7 separate regions of the Homo sapiens genome follow, and regions 1, 2, 3, 4, 6 and 7 are each linked to region 5. Evidence: promoter capture Hi-C in 16 types of primary human blood cells and fetal thymus (Javierre and others, 2016). All regions are on one chromosome and are shown on one strand. The core of a region is centred on a gene start or on the middle of the fragment in contact, and the rest is flanking DNA. Distances in the headings are between cores, read along the strand shown. Region 1 overlaps PHIP (PHIP subunit of CUL4-Ring ligase complex). Region 2 overlaps PHIP (PHIP subunit of CUL4-Ring ligase complex). Region 3 overlaps PHIP (PHIP subunit of CUL4-Ring ligase complex). Region 4 overlaps PHIP (PHIP subunit of CUL4-Ring ligase complex). Region 5 holds the start of SH3BGRL2 (SH3 domain binding glutamate rich protein like 2). Region 6 holds the start of LOC124901346 (a long non-coding RNA gene). Region 7 has its middle 41 kb from the start of IRAK1BP1.

Region 1 (2,822 bases), core at 300-2,799, 580 kb after region 5:
ACACTGGGATGGGACAAGTAAAGTTCAAAGGTGGGTAAGGTATTACAAAAATGGAATGAAGGTTGGTAGAAAGAAGAGAAGCTTGATCCAAGAATAGCTTTGTGGTAAGAGAAGATAAAATCACCAAACCAGAAACTGATTTTTAAGAAATTAAGGTTTATGAGTAGACTGAGTTATCAGTTCATTACACTTGGAATATAAAATACATACCTATACAATTTGAGAAGCCACTTGAGCTTGTCTCAGTGTTTTCTTATCCTGTTTTATTTTATTATGTGCTTAGAATTCCCAACTACTTTGAACCTTTTGGTCTTTGATGTAAGTTGTGAAAATTGAACTAGAACTCAGTCTCAGCAAGAGACCCAAAGTGGTTCACCTGCCTTCCAGTGCTCTAGAACCTCCTTTAATACTGTTTTCAAAAGCAAAGACAAAAGATCCCACTGATCTGTTGTTATTACTAGCTTGTGATTCTTTTATTGTGGAAGAGAGATGTGAGTGTGTACTTGGCATAGCAGCATTTACTTCCAAAGGTATTAGCGAATCTTTAGTATTGTCCTTTCTCTTACCTCCATACCCACATTATGCCTGTTTTCAGATATAGTTTATTCTATATTTGCTTATACTTCAGTAATAAATGTGCATGAGTAAGGGGAGATAGGAAAGAAGAGACCTAAATACATTAAAGGGGTTTTTAAGATTAAATTTGGAAGTTGGTTTAATGCATGTTTATCTTGTGAAAAAGATTGTAATACATTAAATTAAAGCAATTTCTGCTGATTGCTTTGTTTGCATTTTTCTTACATTTGACATGTTAGCAAAGTAAACTTTTTATCTCTAGGTCTTTCATTTGTCATCGTTTTTGGTGTTTTGCCTAAGTATTTCCATATTTTTATTTTACTTGTCTGTGGAGGTTTGCTATTAAGTTCTGCAGTTTTGTGTGAGGATAAGGAGTTTTGAGAATCCTGATTCTTAAACATGTTTGAGGGTAAGGAAAAAACTTTGCCTTGAAAAGTAGCTTCACTACCCAGACATCCAATTAATGCTAAGAAGCCTTTGCATTTAAAAAAAAAAAAAGTCTTAAATCTTGTCTACATTTATAATTTTGTGATTCTCTGAGAAGACTAGTTTGAATAAAGACAGCAAACAGTCACTTAAAGCTAGATGCAAATCTTTGTAGAGAAGACTCTTCTTTCTCACCTTGTGCTATATTTTGCCATATTTCCAATATTGTGTTTGAATTTTCTGTAGCTGGTAATTTCTTAAATTTATTCAATCAAGGTTTTTTTTTCTTAGACTCTTAGGTTTATATTTTTCCTCATATATTTCTTACATAATTATTAGAATTTTTTTATATTACAAATATATGAGATTACATAATTTTAATATATAAGTTAACAGTTACATATAATTCAGCAAATTATAGGATATAATATATGGGGTTTTTTTCCTGTTCACTTATCTTTTTCTAATATGCTATATTCAGTGTTTTTTCTTTCCATTTTCTTACTCAATCCATACTTTATTCCTAGTTAGATATCTACTCATCACTTATTTAAATATATTTATTTTAACCTATTGTTTCTCAGTAACCATTTTTACTTTTAGAGCTCATTTTCTGTTTTTCTAGTCATAATTTTAGTCTTATAAAGGTTTTATACTTCGCTTTTTTTTTTTTGGTTTAATGATTGTTGACTCAGTTATATTCTTTTTTGTCTTGGTCTTTGTTTTTTAGTGTTTTCCCTGAATGATCTTCATATTTCTATTTGACACAGGTTTTGTTGTTTTATTAACTATTTTCTCCCTAGCCCCTCCCCTGCCTTTCTATTTCCTCCCTTTTTTTTGCCTCTTAAAAACAGGTTAGCTGTGAGAGACTTGCAAGGTGTATTAGCATTTTTTTTTTTTTTAGGGAAATAATGTTCATTATGCCAAAGTATCAGATGTACAAAATATATATTTATTTATTTTTTCCTCTGCTTAAATTTCTTTTGAAATTAATGGTTGACAAAAAAAAGGGGGCAAAACTTTGAAGAAATGAAACTCCCTTAGGTGAGTTTAAATTGTTGCTTTTGTAGCTAGCTGTGTTTTAATTTCTTCTGTAACTAATAGGATAACATTTGTTTTTAGGTTATAGATGTGATGAGGGATATCCCCTCCACTTCATATAAACCATCTGGCAAGCAATTCCAGTAGTAATTAGGAATCACTAGCCATTTTCCCTTTTAGTTTGCATCACATATTTTTCCAGAGTGATTATTGGGTTTGATTTTGTTGAATACTCATATCTGTGTAGGTGAAGCAAATTATGATATTATTTTCTCATAAGGTCATGACTTTTTATTTTGAATTTCTTCAGGGATCCTTTAAAGTTACGTATTCAGTGTTTTCTTAGACATCTTTTGGACCTGGGAAGTCCATGATCAGATCAGGCTGAATAGATATTTTTATAAACAAAGGAATAATTTGTTCAGCTCCATAAGGAAGCCTCGGGGAAAATTGGGCTCCAACAAAAGTCTTTTAAAAAGTAAAAGAAAACTATGTTCAGTTAAATTAACTTTTATGGCACATGAAGATTTGATTGTTTAGGGACAGTCCATATCAATGTTAGTATAAAATACCTTTGAATTTGCAAAACATTTTGTCTCGTCTGTTTTCTATAGCAACTCTTTAAGATAACCCTACATTTTTAATTTAATTTTATTCTTTTGAGATTGAGTCTCGCTCTGTTGCCCAGGCTGAAGTGCAGTGGCGCAATGTCGGCTCACTCCAACTTGCTCCTCCCAGGTTCAAGCCATTCTCCTGCCTCAGCCCCTCAAGTAGCTGAG
Region 2 (2,700 bases), core at 201-2,700, 650 kb after region 5:
AGGCGAAGTAGTTGCTGTCAGTGGTGGAACATCCGAAGAAGAAGAGAGAGCATGGCACAGTGATGGCAGTTCTAGGTAAATGAATGCTTTTTATTTTTCCAAATGTTATATAAAGTCTTTAGAAAGGTGTTTTTTTTTTTAACCAGCAACACGTTTCAAAGTCTCTGTAAGTTCAAAGTTCTTCAGAGAGTTTTTGAAGTTGTATGAAATGTAGATTTTCTGATATATGTTCTCTATAGAAAATAATTTTTTGGTGATTGCAACTAGATCTGCAAAATGATGCTTTTAACTTTATCATCTTAGTATTGTTTCTTCTGAATACCGTTATAATGTTGAATTGCAAACCAGTTTCATTACTGGTTTTGAAAAGTATGAAGTTAAGAAAGCAATGCAAGCCTCCTGAGTTAACTATCTTATATAGTGGAATTTATGGAATACTAATGATAAGAGGAATAAGCTCTCCTTTTTCTTGTTATGCCTACCTTATTTGACCAGACCAGTGAGGATTCCTTCAACTCCTTATACTGGCGATTCACATTGTTGCAGAGCTTATGACCTTGGCTAACTTTGCAAGGTCTTAATAGCAAAAAGAGAGTATAGCCTTTGGGGATGGCAATTATGATTAGCTGCTACACTTATCCCCCACCTTAGTGGCTCTTAAAATAGACGAGACAAAGTATGAAGTAGAGGCTGTAAGAGTTCCTCAGTTGTACAATCAAGGGCTCTCCTATTCCCACAGTAGTGATTTCTGGTAATGATGTGCAAATGTGTGTGGTTATATCTAGTAGTTTTCTGTATTCAAAACAGGTCAATGAAGGAAAAATTGAATTTCTTTTGGCTCGACAGCAGAATCAGAGTATTTCAAACCCTGAGATGACATAGGAGTTCCTGTATTAAAAGAGTAGTGGTGGTTTTAGCAGTTGAGGACGGTTGTAAAGAATGCTGGACTCTGGAGTTTGTAATTATGTTTATGCTGACAGCAGAAGATCTTCTGTAAGAGCCAAGTACTCCAGAGAGTGATAACTGTGTGATTTGGCAGGTACCATTTACAGTGGCCATGGCTGGAGCTAGTATAAATAAAATGCTCATAAGTTGAAGACAACCTATTTTAGAATAGCATAGCTGAAAATAGTGTAAGTTCTTAAAAATCATTTTAAATTTCATAGTGAAATCACTAAATCATGCTAGAGAACATCTTAATTATTTGATTCTTATCTGGGATGATTAGGATAATCAGAGATTTAGGTACGTGCTTATAAAGAACATTTGGACAGTGGAGAGGGGTAGTGGGGAGGGTTAGTGACAATGGAATAAAGCTCCAGAAAAATCTGCTTTTTCAGTGTTAATGTTAACAGCAGTATTTTTAGAGGCATGAGGTCATATATCATTAAATCTGGGAAAGCTAATTATTGCTTTTAACATAGTATAACTTAGGTTCCTTTAAGACATTTATGTTCATAAAATTGTACAAAATAAGTAAATATGCTCACATACTAAAATTAATATAGAAGATAATACAACTAGATTCTTTATTTTGCAACATGATTGGTTCAGTAAATCGTTTGTCAATGAAGGTAAACTAAAAAGAAATGACAAACATGATTGGAAGCAGTATACAAAATATAGTAAGGCCTGTATTTTTCTGAATCATGGCATGCTTTGAAGCATAAGATACACCTAACGTGTAGGGTGTAGGTAGGTAGAATAATTTTATCTAAATGAAATTTTGTTACTTTACATGCAGAGTAAAGTTTGCAAACACAGTCTTTCCCCTGGGTAGGAACACTTCTGACTCTGCCAGTTCAATATCCAGCTACCCTGAGAGCACTAGTACTGGACCATAAGAGTTCCCCTGTCTGGAACTCCCACCTCCCCTTAAAAAAGGAATCCCCATATCTCCTTAATGTTGACACCTTCTGTGCTCTCCAGGGTTATCTTTTTGCTGTCAATAGAACTGAGAAAAGTGACCCCCTCTTATTTTTATATGCTCACAGAATTTGTAACATATGCAACACTCAGAAGTCAGTATTTTTCTTAAAATCTTGGAAGGTACTTAAATTTGTTTTTTCACTTAAAGTTGTGACTTTATGTATCTTCAGGTTTTGGGGGAGTTTTTTTGCGATATTTAAGTAAAGCCTATAGAATTTCAAGAAACTTTTGAAGATGAGTTGAAAATTAGGGAAGTTTTTTTGTAGTTTAAGTATTTGTTCTGTCATTTCTCTTTATTATAATCTTTCTTTTCGTTTTTATAAAACAAGTCTTAAAATTTTATCTTGTGTGTTATCTAATAATCCCTTCTCTCCTTCTAGTGACTACTCCAGTGATTACTCTGACTGGACAGCAGATGCAGGAATTAATCTGCAGCCACCAAAGAAAGTTCCTAAGAATAAAACCAAGAAAGCAGAAAGCAGTTCAGATGAAGAAGAAGAATCTGAAAAACAGAAGCAAAAACAGATTAAAAAGGAAAAGAAAAAAGTAAATGAAGAAAAAGATGGACCAATATCACCAAAGAAAAAGAAGCCCAAAGAAAGAAAACAAAAGGTTTGGTTTTTAACATTACAAATTTGGTGTTTTCTAGAGAAACAGTTTAAAGCACACATCTTGAAGTACAATTGATCACAAACATTGTTGAAGTGTATCAGCAAATAATAATAGAAAAAACTCAGAAATACACAGTAGTAAAAAAGTTTACCTAAATAT
Region 3 (2,885 bases), core at 119-2,618, 600 kb after region 5:
TTGGCATTCATTTCTACTGCTTATTCTAATGGCAATAAGAGATGAGATCTCTGACTCAAAAGCTGTAAAGTAGCCTCAAGAGAAATTAAAATTCTCCTTGTTGACTCTGCCAGATAACAGTAGGTTTTCAAGGAATGCCAAATTCTCTAAGATATTTTTAGTTAAAAAATCACATAATTTCTTTTATTTTCATGTCAAAGTAGTAATCTTTGTATAATTTATGCCTCTCTTTTAGGTACATAGGTCAATATTTTAATTTTAAGGTTTCTCAAGTTATCTGAACAGAAGTAAACTGTTTCCCAATGTGTACAGTTTTCTGCTTGTGTTATTGAGCAGAGGGGGCTTGCTGCCCAGTGTACTAGAAGCCAATACTATGACACTGGGTTTTTGAGAAAAGAAAAGCTTTATATTGAAAGTCAACTCCCAAGAAGACTCAGGGGTCAAGCTCAAATCTGTCTCCTCATGCTGGTTTCAAGGCAGTATTTTTATTACAGGTTCAGTAGGGGTGAATTCTGAGATTAGTAGGTGTTTGGTGGAAGGAAAGGGGAGGTCTGGAATGTCCCTGGGCATGCACAGTTAACTCATTATGATACCTCATGGGTCACATGTGCAAATTCTAGGGTAGTTAGTATGAAATGTGGTAGATAGTCAGGCTATGATGTCAGCAAGCTTGTTCTGTGCAGACTCCAGTTGGCCATCTTGGTTCCAACTGATTTCAGCCAGTTCTATCTCATAAGTAGAGGGAGTTTCAGTGTTTGGACAAGTTGTTTCTTAGTTGCCATCCCGCACACTCAAAGAATATTAGTCATTCAGTGTTAATCAATGTTAGTCGTTGATTTCTTTAACTCTTTGGGGCATGATTTCACTTAGAGAATTCAACCATTCCTTGTCATTTATGCTGCTTCCTGTAAATTACTTTATTACTGAACAGAATTGTCCTCTCTAATTGTCTACTTCATAGTTTTGCAACATCTGGGCCTAAATTGACTTCTTGGCCTTGCATAGAAAGGCCTGTATTTCATTTATGTAGTCAGAGTATCTGTAAATAAGCCATACCAGAAAGAGCTCTATCAAGTTGTTCTGAAACTTAGCTTTTCTTTAAATAAATAAATAGTTCAATTAGGCCTTTTGAAGCTTAACCTCTGGAAACTCATTAAATTATTAAAATTTGGGGGCATAGACTTTAGGTGCTGTTTGGTTTCTGCATCGAATTGAAGTGATTCATGGCCCTGTGTCTGAAGTTGTTTGAAGTTTTCATGGCAGTACGTAGGCCATTTTTTTCTGGATTTTGAGGATAATTTTAATACCAAAGTGCCTAACAGTAGAAAGCCACGTCATAAAGACCTGTGGAACTTTTCTTCATGAGAACATTAAAGTCAAATGTGTTACTAGACACTGCCTAGGCTTTATGAAAAATGCTAATACAGACGTACCCTGTTTCATTGTGCCTTTATTGCATTTTGCAAATACTGTATTTTTTACAAATTGTATATTTGTGAAAACCCTGAGTAAAGCAAGTCTGTCAGCATCATTTTTCTAACAACATATGCTCAAGTCTTGTCTCTTTCACATTTCGATACTTCTCACAATATTTCAAGCTTTTTCATTATTATTATAACTGTTATGGTGATCTATAATCTCTGATGTTCCTATTGTAAGTCTTTTTAGGGTGCCATGACCTGCACCCTTATGGCGAACTTAATGAATGTTGCATGTGTTCTGATTGCTCCACCAACTGGCCCTTCCCCATTTTTCTCTCCTTGGGCCTGCCTATTGAAATTAATCCAATTAATAACCCTACAATGGCCTCTTAGTGTTCAAGTGAGAGGAAGAGTCTCAGGTCTCTCACTTTAATTCAAAAGTTAGAAAAGATTAAGGCGAGTGAGGAATGCATGTTAAAAGAGTTAGCCAAGTTGTGAATGTAAAGCAAAAGTTCTTGAAGGAAATTAAACGTGCTACTCCAGTGAGCACACAAATGATGAGAAAGTTAAAGAGCTCATTGCTGATATAGAGAAAGTTTAAGTGGTCTCTATAGGAGATCAAAACTAGCCACAATACTCTTTTAAGCCAAAGGCTAATCCAAAGCAAGACCCTGACTCTTAATTCTGTGAAGGCTGAGAGATGAGGAAGCTACATAAGAAAAGTTGGAGCTAGCAGAGGTTGGCTTACGAGGTTTAAGGAAAAAAGCCATCTCCATAACATAAAAGTGCAACGTGAAGCAACAAGTGCTAATGAAGTAGTTGCCGCAAATTATCCAAAAGACCTAGCTAAGATCATTGAAGAAAGTTGCTACACTAAGCAATAGATTCTCAATTACAGGTGAAACAGCTGTGTATTGGAAAAATACATCATCTAGGACTTTCATAATTAGAGAGAAGTCAATGCCTGGCTTCAAAGCTTCAAAAAGCAGGCTGACTCTTTTGTTCAGGGCTGATGCAGCTAGTGACTTGAAGTTGAAACCAGTGTCCATTTACCATTTTTTAAATTCTAGGACCATAAGAATTATGCTAAACTACTTTGCTTGTGCTCTGTAAAGGGAACTACAAAGTCTGGATGACAGCATATCTTTTTATAGCGTGGTTTACTGAATATTTTAAGCCCACTGTTGATACCTACTGCTCAGAAAAAAAAAAAGATTCCTTTCAAGATATTACTGTTCATTAACAAGATGCCTGGTCACCCAGGAACCCTGATGGAAATATACAAGGTGGTTAGTGTTGTTTTTATGCTTGCTGACAATACATTTATTCTGCAGCCTGTGGATCAAGGAGTAATTCTGATTTTCAAGTCTTATTTAAGAAATACATTTCATATGGCTGTAGCTGTCATGGATAGTAATTCATTTGATGGATCTGGGCAAAGTACATCGAAAACCTCCTGTTTCA
Region 4 (2,700 bases), core at 74-2,573, 690 kb after region 5:
CTTTAAGAATCTCAAAACTTGGAAGATTTCTGTTCTAAACACAAAAATACATAATTGTTAAAATGCTTCAGTTTACCTTTTCATCAAAAGATTAGGAAAAAGGGATGTAAAAAACAATAATTAAATTCTAAATATTTTTTACTGGAAAAATATTTACATTACAGTATTTACTGAACAAAGGTATTTTCCTCCAAGGAATGGTTGAACACTTTTTTTTTTCCCTCACAGATTTACAGCATGAGTTTGCGCCTGTCTGCTTTCTTTGAAGAACACATTAGTTCAGTTTTATCAGATTATAAATCTGCTCTTCGTTTTCATAAAAGAAATACCATAACCAAAAGGAGGAAGAAAAGAAACAGAAGCAGCTCTGTTTCCAGTAGTGCTGCATCAAGGTATTTAATTTCTTTTAAATACCACTAGCTGATCTATAACTTTCATCTAAATGATAGAACTTGGTGTTTTTTAATACTTCCTTTACTATTCCCTATATTGCAGAATGATAATTTGACATGCAAGTTCCTATGATGTGGAGGATTTTTAATCTTTTAACTAAAGCTATACTAGTGTAAGTGCTTAAATTCAAACTGCTAAATCTATACAGTAAAACAGCATTTTTAGGATAGTGATGGCATCATGCTTTCCGTCATATAACTTTAGCATTTACAGCGATCCTTCACTAAATATTCACTTTCAAAGGCTCACAATCATATGAAATCCACTATAAATCTCATATTTTAACATATTTCATAATAGTACAAATATTGAATCCAAAAATATTATAAACTGTTTTATTCGTTCACATAGAGCTATAAGAGTGACTGACAATACTATTTTATTTACAGCCCTGAAAGGAAAAAAAGGATCTTAAAACCCCAGCTAAAATCAGAAAGCTCTACCTCTGCATTCTCTACACCTACACGATCAATACCGCCAAGACACAATGCTGCTCAGATAAACGGTAAAACAGAATCTAGTTCTGTGGTTCGAACCAGAAGCAACCGAGTGGTTGTAGATCCAGTTGTCACTGAGCAACCATCTACTTCTTCAGCTGCAAAGACTTTTATTACAAAAGCTAATGCATCTGCAATACCAGGGAAAACAAGTAAGACTCACTTTCTAAATTGAAATGTATATGATGATTTTCTTAATTTAAGCTTTTACTTTGCCAAATGCAATATACTGAGTTTTAGTAATTCCTAGCAGACACTGTTGTTTTTGCCTTCTTTATTAATTTCCTATTTTAAAAAAAAGTTTTTAATAAGAAGAATTAAATTGAGGTTTAGGTCATTATAGACTAATGCTTAAAAATGGCAACTCTGATCTAAACTACCTGAATTTAAATCACAGTACCCACACTAGCTAGCAATTTGCCAAGACTTGCCTTCGAAATTTTGAAATGATGGGACAGCTTCTAAAAGGGCTGAAACTATTAAGAGTTTCTAGTTGGATACGCCTTTTTCCTATTAGAAAGTAGCTTTCCTAAGAAAGCTTTAAGCATCCTTCAGGTTTTGTTGTCTTGGCTAATTCAAATAATTCAGGTTAACCTTTTTTCTTATCTTTAGGTTCAATAACTCTTAATTTTTAAATTTTGTTTGTATGTTTTAGTACTAGAGAATTCTGTGAAACATTCCAAAGCTTTGAATACTCTTTCCAGTCCTGGTCAATCCAGTTTTAGTCATGGCACTAGGAATAATTCTGCAAAAGAAAACATGGAAAAGGAAAAGCCAGTCAAACGTAAAATGAAGTCATCTGTACTCCCAAAGGCGTCCACTCTTTCAAAGTCATCAGCTGTCATTGAGCAAGGTAAGGTATTACTTGTATCTTTCAAGATACAGTAGATCCTTATTATAAATAATGCTTTTGTTGGAATCAGCATTTATATCCACTTTTCAGGTTGCCCACTTAAAAGTCACACATCTGTATTAGTTGATAAATTTACTGCAATGAGCTATTATTGTGCCACTGCACTCCATCCTGGTAAACAGAATGAGACCCTGTCTCAAAAGAAAAAAAAAAAAAAGAAATAAATCTTCAAAGTTTAAATTAAATAGGGTATAGTTAACCCAATGTAGCATTCTTCACTTTTCTAGAAAAATGTTTAAGTAATTATTGGATCACAAAACTACTTATTTTTCTAGACTGACTTTTACTAAATAATAATTCATTGGGGTTGTCTACAACTGTAGAATACAACTTTTGACACCTTACTGTTACACTTCAAGTTCTTTCACCTCCAGGTTTTTATTGTAAAGTCTTTATGTTTGAAAGATGAAGAAGGTAAATAATAAAATATGCCATGTGACATGTTAAAATAATATGGCTTCTTGGCAGCAGACAGCCCAATAATAAGCATTTTGCATCATGACTTTCAAAGTGTGTCTAAGACATTTCTTCATTGTTGTCTTCAGAAACCTCTCTCAAAATTTAATTTCTCTACTGAAATCTTATTTTTGTTAATGGCATTGGGATCTACCCGTGTAAACTTAAAATCAGGGAGTCATCCTAGCCTTCTCTTCAGCAACTGAATCTGTTCAACAGCTTTTTGTTTTTGTTGTTTCTCCCTCCATAACATCTCTTAAATCTATTCTCTCCTCTCCATTCTCACCTCCATGACATTATTTCAAGGCCTACATAATTTCTTGCTTGGACTATTTTCCTAGTTTCCTAACTGGTCTTCCTGCCTCAGTTCTCAACTCTTTC
Region 5 (2,700 bases), core at 154-2,653:
GTCTGAGGACCCCAACATGACTGCACATAAGTGTAAGTTGGATTTTCCCATCTATTGTTTCTAGTGCAAATGGGGGTGGAGGGGCTTTGTATGATCGTGTTGGTTTCTTTTTAAATAAAAAACTTCAGTGGTGTACAAGGATTTTCAAACAATATTTTATTCCATCCTCCACTCCACCCACTTAAGAAACAAATTTTGGAACAATCTGACTGAGCTACTGGGCAGACAATTGACCAGACCAAATTTAAGCAATCTACAATGCACTTTTTGATGTTACTTGATTATATATGTCACAAAGGAGGCTCTTAAATCTATAGCTGAACTCTTGGTTAAGGAAACCAAGTCTCAATAATCATGTAAAACACATGTGCTATGTCCCTTAGTGGGCTGTCAAATATACTAACTACTGAATTTTCCTTAAATTCTGACATCTCTAGCTATTTAACTTTCCTTTCTTTAAAAAAATTTTTTTTCTCTAAAAAAATTCAAGAACATCCACCAAAGAGAATAGCTAAAAATAATTAAATAGAAAACCACAATTCATAGATCCCCAGGATAAAATTTCCACAGCATTACAGGTGGAAAGAAAATGCGTGCATACACACACATTTACATAAAGATGTAAAAATATTTATGGCACCCTAAGAAAAAAAATGACAGTGAAAGCAAACAATCCTACCACAACAGGACAAACCTAGTTTTACTATTCTCTTTGCGCAGGTATAAAACTAAACAAATGCACTTGCTGGCGGGGAAGGGAGGACAGAGAGCAATTCCCACTTAAACTTGCTTCATTCAGGAGCTAGGGTAACAAACCAAAGCAGCAGAAAAGGCTCCCGTGCAAAACATAACCAGTCTGAAGGTCCCAAATCGGGAAGAACTAAACTAGGGGAAGGGGGATCCCCGAAGCTCTTGAACAACCCGTTCCCCAAATTTCCATGCCACACAACAGGAGCTGGGGGCTTCCCTCGGACTCCATTTTCAGGCCGCGTTGTCTGCCTTTCAGGCCACGCAGGGTGGGCATTTGGGTGAGGCCGGGGTCCCCCACCCACCTTTCCTCCCCGCCCTCTTCATTGTTGTCGGAGTGTGATGGATCACCTGCCGGGCGCGGGCTCCCGCGGGCGGACCGGCTGAGCGCAAGGACGCGCAGTGACGAGCGCCGCGCGCCTCCCGCAGGACCCGCGCCCCGCGACCCCAACCTACTGCCCGCCCCCACCGCGCTCACCGCCACGAAGCCCGAGGAAGAGGCGATGAACACGCGGATGACCATCCTCTCGCTGCGCCCGGGACAGACCCCTTGCCCCCCGGGCTCCGGGCTGGCGTGGACGCAGAGCTGAACCCAGCTACGAGCCGCCGGCAGCCTCTGGGTAAAGCGCTGCCGTCGGGGAAGATCGCTGGGATCTGGCTCCCTCCCGGCGGGTCCGCAGATAAAAGCCCAGCGCCGCCCGGCCGCAGGCTGAAGGGGAAGGAGAGGGAGGAGGAGGGAGCCGGCTGCGGGGCTTGATGGGATTTGTAGTTTCCGTCTCTCCCTGGAGTGGCTGGTGGACTGAGCTCCCCTCCTGACCGCGCTTCTATCCCGAACACGCGCAGGTGGCTGGAGGGGAGCCACAGCCCGGGCAGAAGCTGTGAGGTGGGTTGGCAAGGATCCTGGCTTGATGAGGAAAAAGCAAACTAGGCAAAAGGGCTCGGTTCAAAGTCCAAGCTTGGGTTCTGTATTGTGGTTTATTGGTTTGGAGCATCCACACCCAGAAATGCCAACAGACACGATCGTGCTGCGGGCACACATCGTCTCAGGGCCGCTGGCGTACCGGGCAAACCCCAGCTACCTGAAGCAGGCGGGATCGGCGAGCCGGGTGCTTGGGAGGTGTGGGCGGTGGGGTTGGGCTCGTTTGTTTGTCCAGTAGCACTGGAGATTGCAGAAAGGTGATTCTTTTGGGTAAATGAGAGGTCTTCTCTTGTCTGTACACACTGAAAATTAGAAACCCAGATGGAAGCACAACCAATATTTTATTTTTCTCAGCAAAACTGTAATTGTAGTAGAAAAAAATAAATACCAAACGAAATTGGAATCCTTCTATCAACATTGGAAATCAGGACCCTACCTGCCCCACCCCTCCCTACACAATGGCTTCGCCTCTGTGCACCTAATATTTACAGTTCAGCCAAATCTGTGCCTTTTTCAGAACCGCTGCACATTCCAGCGCAGTTTCCCAGGAGGATGCTGTTAAATAAAAAGCTTCTATATAGTTGCTAATAGTTTAGGAATAGTTTTTTATCAAGTGCTTTCTGTTTGACAAAAGCTCAAGCCTCTCTCTCAGTTTTGTCGAAAGGAACCAGTTTTCCCTGCTGTACTGTATTTACTTTTTTCCTTTCAACACGGGAGTTTAGCAGAGGTCTGGGAACAATGTTAATTAAGAAAAAGTAAGAAATTAGATGATGAGGTCTCTGGCTCTTTGATACATTTCTTGCACAAAGAGCAATCATTATGAAGTATTTTTTAGAACAGTTATGAATATTTCAAATTTATAACCTTTCCTATTGCTTTTCTTAAAGCCATTTCTGTAGTAGGAATCTTTTTAAATTTCCTTCAATAATAGAAGAGACACTCCTAATGGGACTTTATTTCTTCTTCGTGTTTAAAATTTTAAATAGAAGTTTTGCTGTCTTTAGTATCTCTCGGCAAATGTACTTTAATTTTGC
Region 6 (2,700 bases), core at 177-2,676, 630 kb after region 5:
TCTTTTTACCAAAATGCAAACCTTCCTTGAGAAATCAGTTATTCTTCTTCTGAATTTTAACTTCTGCATTTGGTGAACTGTACATCCATCCTTATGCCACATTTTTAATACTAAAGAAAGAAAGTTACTACCTTTCTCTTTTCCAAGCATTTCCTGGGATATTACTAATAAAGCTCAATTTGTTCTAGATCAGTGGATACCGGAACAGAAAGGAGGTATTTCTTACCTGATAATGTGTGTGTGTTCCGATTCTGCTAATCCAGAAATCCAACAGCATTTGTTGAAAATCATCCTTAGTTGTTATTTGTTAGGGAGTCAACTCCCTATTTTAGTTGTTTCTGAAATTCAGTCCCTAGATGTGCTTTAGATAGGGTAGAATTTTTACCTCTTTCAGAACACTGCTAAAGAAGTTTTCAACTGGAACATAGTCTGAAGAAGCACTGAGAGCAAAAAATTCAGAGTGGTGATTGGCCACCTCTGTTTGATTGACAGGTTGCAGGGAGGAAACCCATTCGTTCTGGATTAATGGAACTGGAAAACAGAAAACAATTATCAGGTAAAAAAAACCTTTTCTTTAACCTTTGAAATTCACCATTTAAAAGACGAGTCAGACTACCAGGGAATTTATTACCAAAAATAATAAAATCTAGTGTCATTTGAGCAATGATCTCTGGCTACTACTTCCAAGAATTACCAAAAAATCCGTACAGTTGCTACATGTCAGCTTTTGCAGAAAGGGCATGATTGAACGGAGATAGATGGAGTGTAAGACATAATTATGTGTTAAATCTGAGTTTAAAACATGAAGCAGAATTCTATGGGTGGGGGAGTTGGTATTCTTTTATTTCCTGAATTGTGTTTGGTCTGTGGATAGAATACTTTATTTTTCAAGGCTATTAATCTGGCACTTTTCATGAATATTCATAAATTTTATTACTGTACAATGCTTGTTTTACTTAATCTTCACTTCATTAGGATGTATGCTTTTATCTTAAAATTATTGTAATAATAGTGACCAATTCTTTTCATTTTAATGGTAGTTTTCTTACTGTTGGTTAAATATATTTCAGATTGAAGGCCAAGGACATGGCGCAGTATTTGACTGCAAATGCTCTCCTGATGGTCAGCATTTTGCATGCACAGACTCTCATGGACATCTTTTAATTTTTGGCTTTGGGTCCAGTAGCAAATATGACAAGGTAGAGTATGATGACTATATATCATGTCCTTATTTTTTTTTAATGCATGTTTAGGGGTTGTATGTTTTTGGAGTGGGTGAGAATCAGCATCTTTACATTCAGGATAAAATTCGAAGAATCTTGTGTTAAGTAGTCTGGAGACTTAGTTTCGGAAAGGAAGGTGAAGACAGCAGTTAAATCTCACTTTAATAGGGCTTATTATTTGAAAATCTGCATATTTCAGGAAAAAAATAACTCTTAGCCTCCTGGGGCAATCTAGATTGGAATTCTTAACTTGGGGTATATAAACTGGAGATGGAAGATGTTATCCATAGTGGGACTCTGAAATTATGTAAAATGTTTTTTTAATATAGATAATACGTACTTATCTAGGGTACAAATCTGTGGCTTTCATGTGGCTCTTAAAAATGTATTATATTACCTGATTGTAGTTAATGTTTTTTATTAAAGATCCTGTCCAGTTTTTGGGGGGCTTTTTTTTACAGAGTAGGGGTGAAATGTCTCACTATGTTGCCTAGACTGGCTTTGAATTCGTGGGCTCAAACAATCCTCTCATTTCAGCCTGCTAAATAACTGCAGGTGGCACTACAGGCATATGCCCTGCCACTTTGCTCAGCAGTTAAAGACCCCAACTTTAAGATTAGTGACTAAAAGAATTAAATTGCTTACTTGTGGTGGAATGGTATAAAAGGTTATGATAGTAAATATTGAGTAGTTTATAATTTAGTTTAAAAAATTGCAAATTAACCAGTGAAATTTTATATAATAAAATTTATGTCCTGGTTGAGTTTATATTAATAATTTTATATCATCTCAAAACATTTAGAGAAAATGCTTATTAACCCTTAGAAAATCTTATGTGATTTTTATAGTAATATTACACAAATCATACTTACTGTATACCTAAGGATTTAAGATAAAGCATGGTAGCTCTGTGGAAGTAAAAATACTGTTGAATGATTTATGACTAGATTTGATGTTACCATTTAATTTAAAATTGAATATTGAATAGCTTATTTTTAGTGGTAGCTTTTCTACACAGTAGCCTCCTCTTATCCACAGGGAATATGTTCCATGACTCCAAATGGATGTCTAAAACCTTGGAAAGTACCAAACCCTATTCACACTGTGTTTTTCCTATACAGTAATGGGTGGGTAGCATATCTAGACAATGTGGATATGCTGGACAAAGGGATGATTTGTGTCCCAAGTGAGATGGCACGTGATTTCATTATGCATTTTGGAACAGTGCACAGTTAAACTTATGAGTTGTTTATTTCTGGAACAGCATTTTTGGAGTCAGGTTGACCACAGGTAACTGAAACCATGGAAAGCAAAATTGCAAATAAGAGGGGACTCCTGTGTATAATCCCTTACTTGTTTCAGAGAAAATTTAAAGCAGCTACTTTTCTGATCATAATACTTAAGGTAGAAAATTAAAATACCTATTTACAATTAATTCAGGAAAATAATATTTTAAAAATTGTTGCTTAATACCATT
Region 7 (2,823 bases), core at 319-2,818, 720 kb after region 5:
CCTGAACTTTTTCATTGTTTCCCTTCCACCCTTTTCCTGTATTTTTGTGGGAAACAGAATACTGTAATGAAAAGATGCCATTAAAAAATTATGAAAAATATCCAACATATAGAAATAACATCACTGATTCTGCTGAGAGTGAGCAAAAAAAGAAAAGAAATAACATCAAACATCTGGTCTGTATTCAAATTTCCAAATGTCTCCTGCTATAAATATTTGTTGATTTAGCGTGTTTGAATCAAGATCCAAATAAACTCCACACATTGTAATTGGTTCCCATGTGTCTTAAAGTAATTCATAGGTTCCCTTGGCATCTGGACTTCATCTTAGCCTATGTACCACTTTTTATTGTTGCTGGAGCAAATTAAAGGCCCTTCTCCTAGTGAAATGTGGGGACCCAGCAGTGCTGTTCAGATTTAGAGTTGTGCAATTCTGCATTTGTCATGCCCTTAAATAGCCCAGCTTTTCGGCTTGGAATCAGGAAGTGAAAAGAGCATACAAATACATGTCTCTTTAATTATGTTTTCATTCAGGGGAACGTTGAAGTACTTTATGAAAATTGCTGAGAGAAGCTAGGTTAAAATCTTTACATTTCAGGGAAAGAGAAGGAGGCTGTGCTAAGCTTCAGGCCAATCTGATACAACTGCTCCTTGATTCACCATGAGATTATGTCTGGATAAACTCAATGTAAATTGAAAATATTGCTAAGTCAGAAGTGTGTTTTTGACTTAGGATATTTTCAACTTATAATGGGCTTGTCTGGACATATTCCTGCCATAAGTGGAGGTATATACTGAATGTGTATGGCTTTTGCACCACCATAAAGTTGAAAAATCATAAATTGAACTATCGTAAGTTAGGATCATCTGTATTTGCTTGCTTCGCCATCTTAAATCATTAGTTTTCCTTCTCAGTATACACTTTTCCCTCTTATCACTTCATATTTTCTCTGTAGTCCCAAGACTGGCCTTTCATGCTATTACTCCTCACAGTTTCTGATCAACGTTCTAATGCCAAAGGCTGGCTGACAAATCATCAAGGATGCTGTAGAAGAGGTTTGAGATTAGACAGAAGGTGGGCCCAGAATTGATCCTATCTATCTCCTTCAGCTCTAGGACTGCACATACATCAAGAAATAAACCTGTTGTTGGGAAAGAACTTGAAAGGCAGATGATGACTCACCATCTTCTACCTATTAGACTACTGTTGGTGAAGAGTCAGCTGAGGGTGGCTTAAAAAAATATTGCACATTGATTTTCCACCCCATTATGTGTCTAAACCCAGAAGTTCTTCTGGTAGATGTGCACACGCTAGCAATATGTAGGCACCTATTGAACACTGACCAATGAGTGCCATCTTGGCTGAGTCTGGTGGCTTACACCTGTAATCCTAGCACTTTGGGAGGCCATGGTGGGAGGATAAGCTGAGGCCAGGAGTTTGAGACCAGCCTGGGCAACATAGTGAGACCTCATCTCTACTAAAAATAGGAAAATTAGCCAGGTGTGTTGGTTGAGTCTTAGCTACTCAAGAGGCTGAGACAGGAAGATCACTTGAGTCTGGTGTTCAAGGTTACAGTGAGCTATGATGGCACCACTGCATTCCAGCCTGGGCAACAGAGTGTGACCCTGCTCTAAAAAAATAAAAAATAATGGCCGAGTGTGGTGGCTCACGCCTTAATCCCAGCACTTTGGGATGCTGAGGCGGGTGGATCACGAGGTTAGGAGTTCAAGACCATCCTGACCAATATGGTGAAACCCCATCTCTACTAAAAATACAAAAAAATTAGCCAGGCATGATGGCGGGCACCTGTATTCCCAGCTACTCGGGAGGCTGAGGCAGGAGAATTGCTTGAACCCGGGAGGCAGAGGTGGCAGTGAGCCAAGATTACACCAATGCACTCCAGCCTGAGCAACAGAGTGAGACTCTGTCTCAAAAAATAGATAAATAAATAAATAAATAAATAAATAAAATAAAAAATAAAAGGCCGGGTGCAGTGCCTCATGCCTGTAATTCCAGCACTTTGGGAGGCTGAGGCGGGCGGATCAAGAGGTCAGGAGTTTGAGACCAGCCTGGCCAATATGGTGAAACCCCGTCTCTACTAAAAACACAAAAATTAGCTGGGCCTGGAGGCATGCGCCTGTAGTCCCAGCTACTGGGGAGGCTGAGGCAGAAGAATGGCTTGAACCCGGGAGGCAGAGGTTGCAGTGAATGGAGATTGCGCCATTGCACTCCAGCCTGGGTGACAGAGTGAGACTCTGTCTCAAAAAAAAATAATAATAAATAAATAAAAACAAGTGTTATCTCAGTTACTAAGCAAAACATCTAATATAATTAGGCTACCTCAATTTTTCATTGTGTGTGTGTATTCAACAACACACAGACAAAATAAACATTCTCAGTAACAGCTTCTAAAGTTTTAGTTTTAACACAGAAACTATGGATTAAATGGGTCTCTGGAATTTCACTTCCCTTTCCTCAGGAAAGGATCTTCTGTTCCTAGTGAAGAAAGCTTTTCTTGCAGTAGAAGCTTCCTCTTTATTTTCATCACAAATACCAGGTGGGCTTTTATCTGGACACACAAATGTAAGATACCTGTTATATGACCCCAAGTTTTGTGGAAAATATGGTGCTTGAATCAGAGGAAATTGTGCTATTTATCATTTATTTTAATAAAAATAGGTATAACTAGGAAGAAAGCTAATTATATGGTAATGTTTCTAATTAGTTTTCAATCCAATACCAAAAAATAAAAATTAGTGACAGATTCACACAGTAACTAGAAAAACACCTAGCATTTTAAGGGTAAATATTTCTAAAATAATT

What was found. The method cuts DNA at HindIII sites, captures the fragments that hold promoters and counts their contacts. A CHiCAGO score of 5 or more calls a contact.
Region 1: a contact is called between a fragment that was not itself captured here and the fragment with the promoter of SH3BGRL2 in region 5, in 1 of 17 cell types (megakaryocytes). The highest score is 5.3, in megakaryocytes.
Region 2: a contact is called between a fragment that was not itself captured here and the fragment with the promoter of SH3BGRL2 in region 5, in 1 of 17 cell types (erythroblasts). The highest score is 5.4, in erythroblasts.
Region 3: a contact is called between a fragment that was not itself captured here and the fragment with the promoter of SH3BGRL2 in region 5, in 1 of 17 cell types (megakaryocytes). The highest score is 5.3, in megakaryocytes.
Region 4: a fragment that was not itself captured here is called in contact with the fragment with the promoter of SH3BGRL2 in region 5 in 1 of 17 cell types (megakaryocytes); the score reaches 6.0 in megakaryocytes.
Region 6: a contact is called between a fragment that was not itself captured here and the fragment with the promoter of SH3BGRL2 in region 5, in 2 of 17 cell types (erythroblasts and megakaryocytes). The highest score is 6.1, in erythroblasts.
Region 7: a contact is called between a fragment that was not itself captured here and the fragment with the promoter of SH3BGRL2 in region 5, in 3 of 17 cell types (erythroblasts, megakaryocytes and M1 macrophages). The highest score is 6.5, in erythroblasts.

Annotation. Positions count from the first base shown.
Region 1 is chr6:79,053,196-79,056,017 of GRCh38, reverse strand. All of the region lies in intron 6 of PHIP (PHIP subunit of CUL4-Ring ligase complex), which reads left to right. The region is part of intron 1 of LOC124901346 (a long non-coding RNA gene); the gene reads right to left. Among named protein-coding and RNA genes, the nearest start is that of PHIP, 24 kb to the left of the region's middle. The HindIII fragment of the contact is 2,931 bases long and covers 84-2,822 here.
Region 2 is chr6:78,982,727-78,985,426 of GRCh38, reverse strand. It overlaps PHIP (PHIP subunit of CUL4-Ring ligase complex), which reads left to right. Exons shown (of 40, transcript NM_017934.7): 22 at 1-75; 23 at 2,310-2,541. Among named protein-coding and RNA genes, the nearest start is that of PHIP, 94 kb to the left of the region's middle. The HindIII fragment of the contact is 4,214 bases long and covers 1-2,700 here.
Region 3 is chr6:79,032,812-79,035,696 of GRCh38, reverse strand. The region is part of intron 7 of PHIP (PHIP subunit of CUL4-Ring ligase complex); the gene reads left to right. The region is part of intron 1 of LOC124901346 (a long non-coding RNA gene); the gene reads right to left. Among named protein-coding and RNA genes, the nearest start is that of PHIP, 44 kb to the left of the region's middle. The HindIII fragment of the contact is 464 bases long and covers 1,137-1,600 here.
Region 4 is chr6:78,944,403-78,947,102 of GRCh38, reverse strand. It overlaps PHIP (PHIP subunit of CUL4-Ring ligase complex), which reads left to right. Exons shown (of 40, transcript NM_017934.7): 37 at 229-392; 38 at 843-1,102; 39 at 1,606-1,803. It also overlaps a transcript of IRAK1BP1 not described here. Among named protein-coding and RNA genes, the nearest start is that of IRAK1BP1, 78 kb to the right of the region's middle. The HindIII fragment of the contact is 334 bases long and covers 1,157-1,490 here.
Region 5 is chr6:79,630,032-79,632,731 of GRCh38, reverse strand. SH3BGRL2 (SH3 domain binding glutamate rich protein like 2) reads right to left here and starts at 1,403. Exons shown (of 4, transcript NM_031469.4): 1 at 1,226-1,403. The coding sequence starts at 1,270. The HindIII fragment of the contact is 2,885 bases long and covers 1-1,704 here.
Region 6 is chr6:79,002,229-79,004,928 of GRCh38, reverse strand. It overlaps PHIP (PHIP subunit of CUL4-Ring ligase complex), which reads left to right. Exons shown (of 40, transcript NM_017934.7): 16 at 1,071-1,199. It overlaps LOC124901346 (a long non-coding RNA gene), which reads right to left and starts at 1,077. Exons shown (of 2, transcript XR_007059652.1): 1 at 227-1,077. The HindIII fragment of the contact is 4,846 bases long and covers 1-2,700 here.
Region 7 is chr6:78,907,177-78,909,999 of GRCh38, reverse strand. It overlaps a transcript of IRAK1BP1 not described here. Among named protein-coding and RNA genes, the nearest start is that of IRAK1BP1, 41 kb to the right of the region's middle. The HindIII fragment of the contact is 1,887 bases long and covers 625-2,511 here.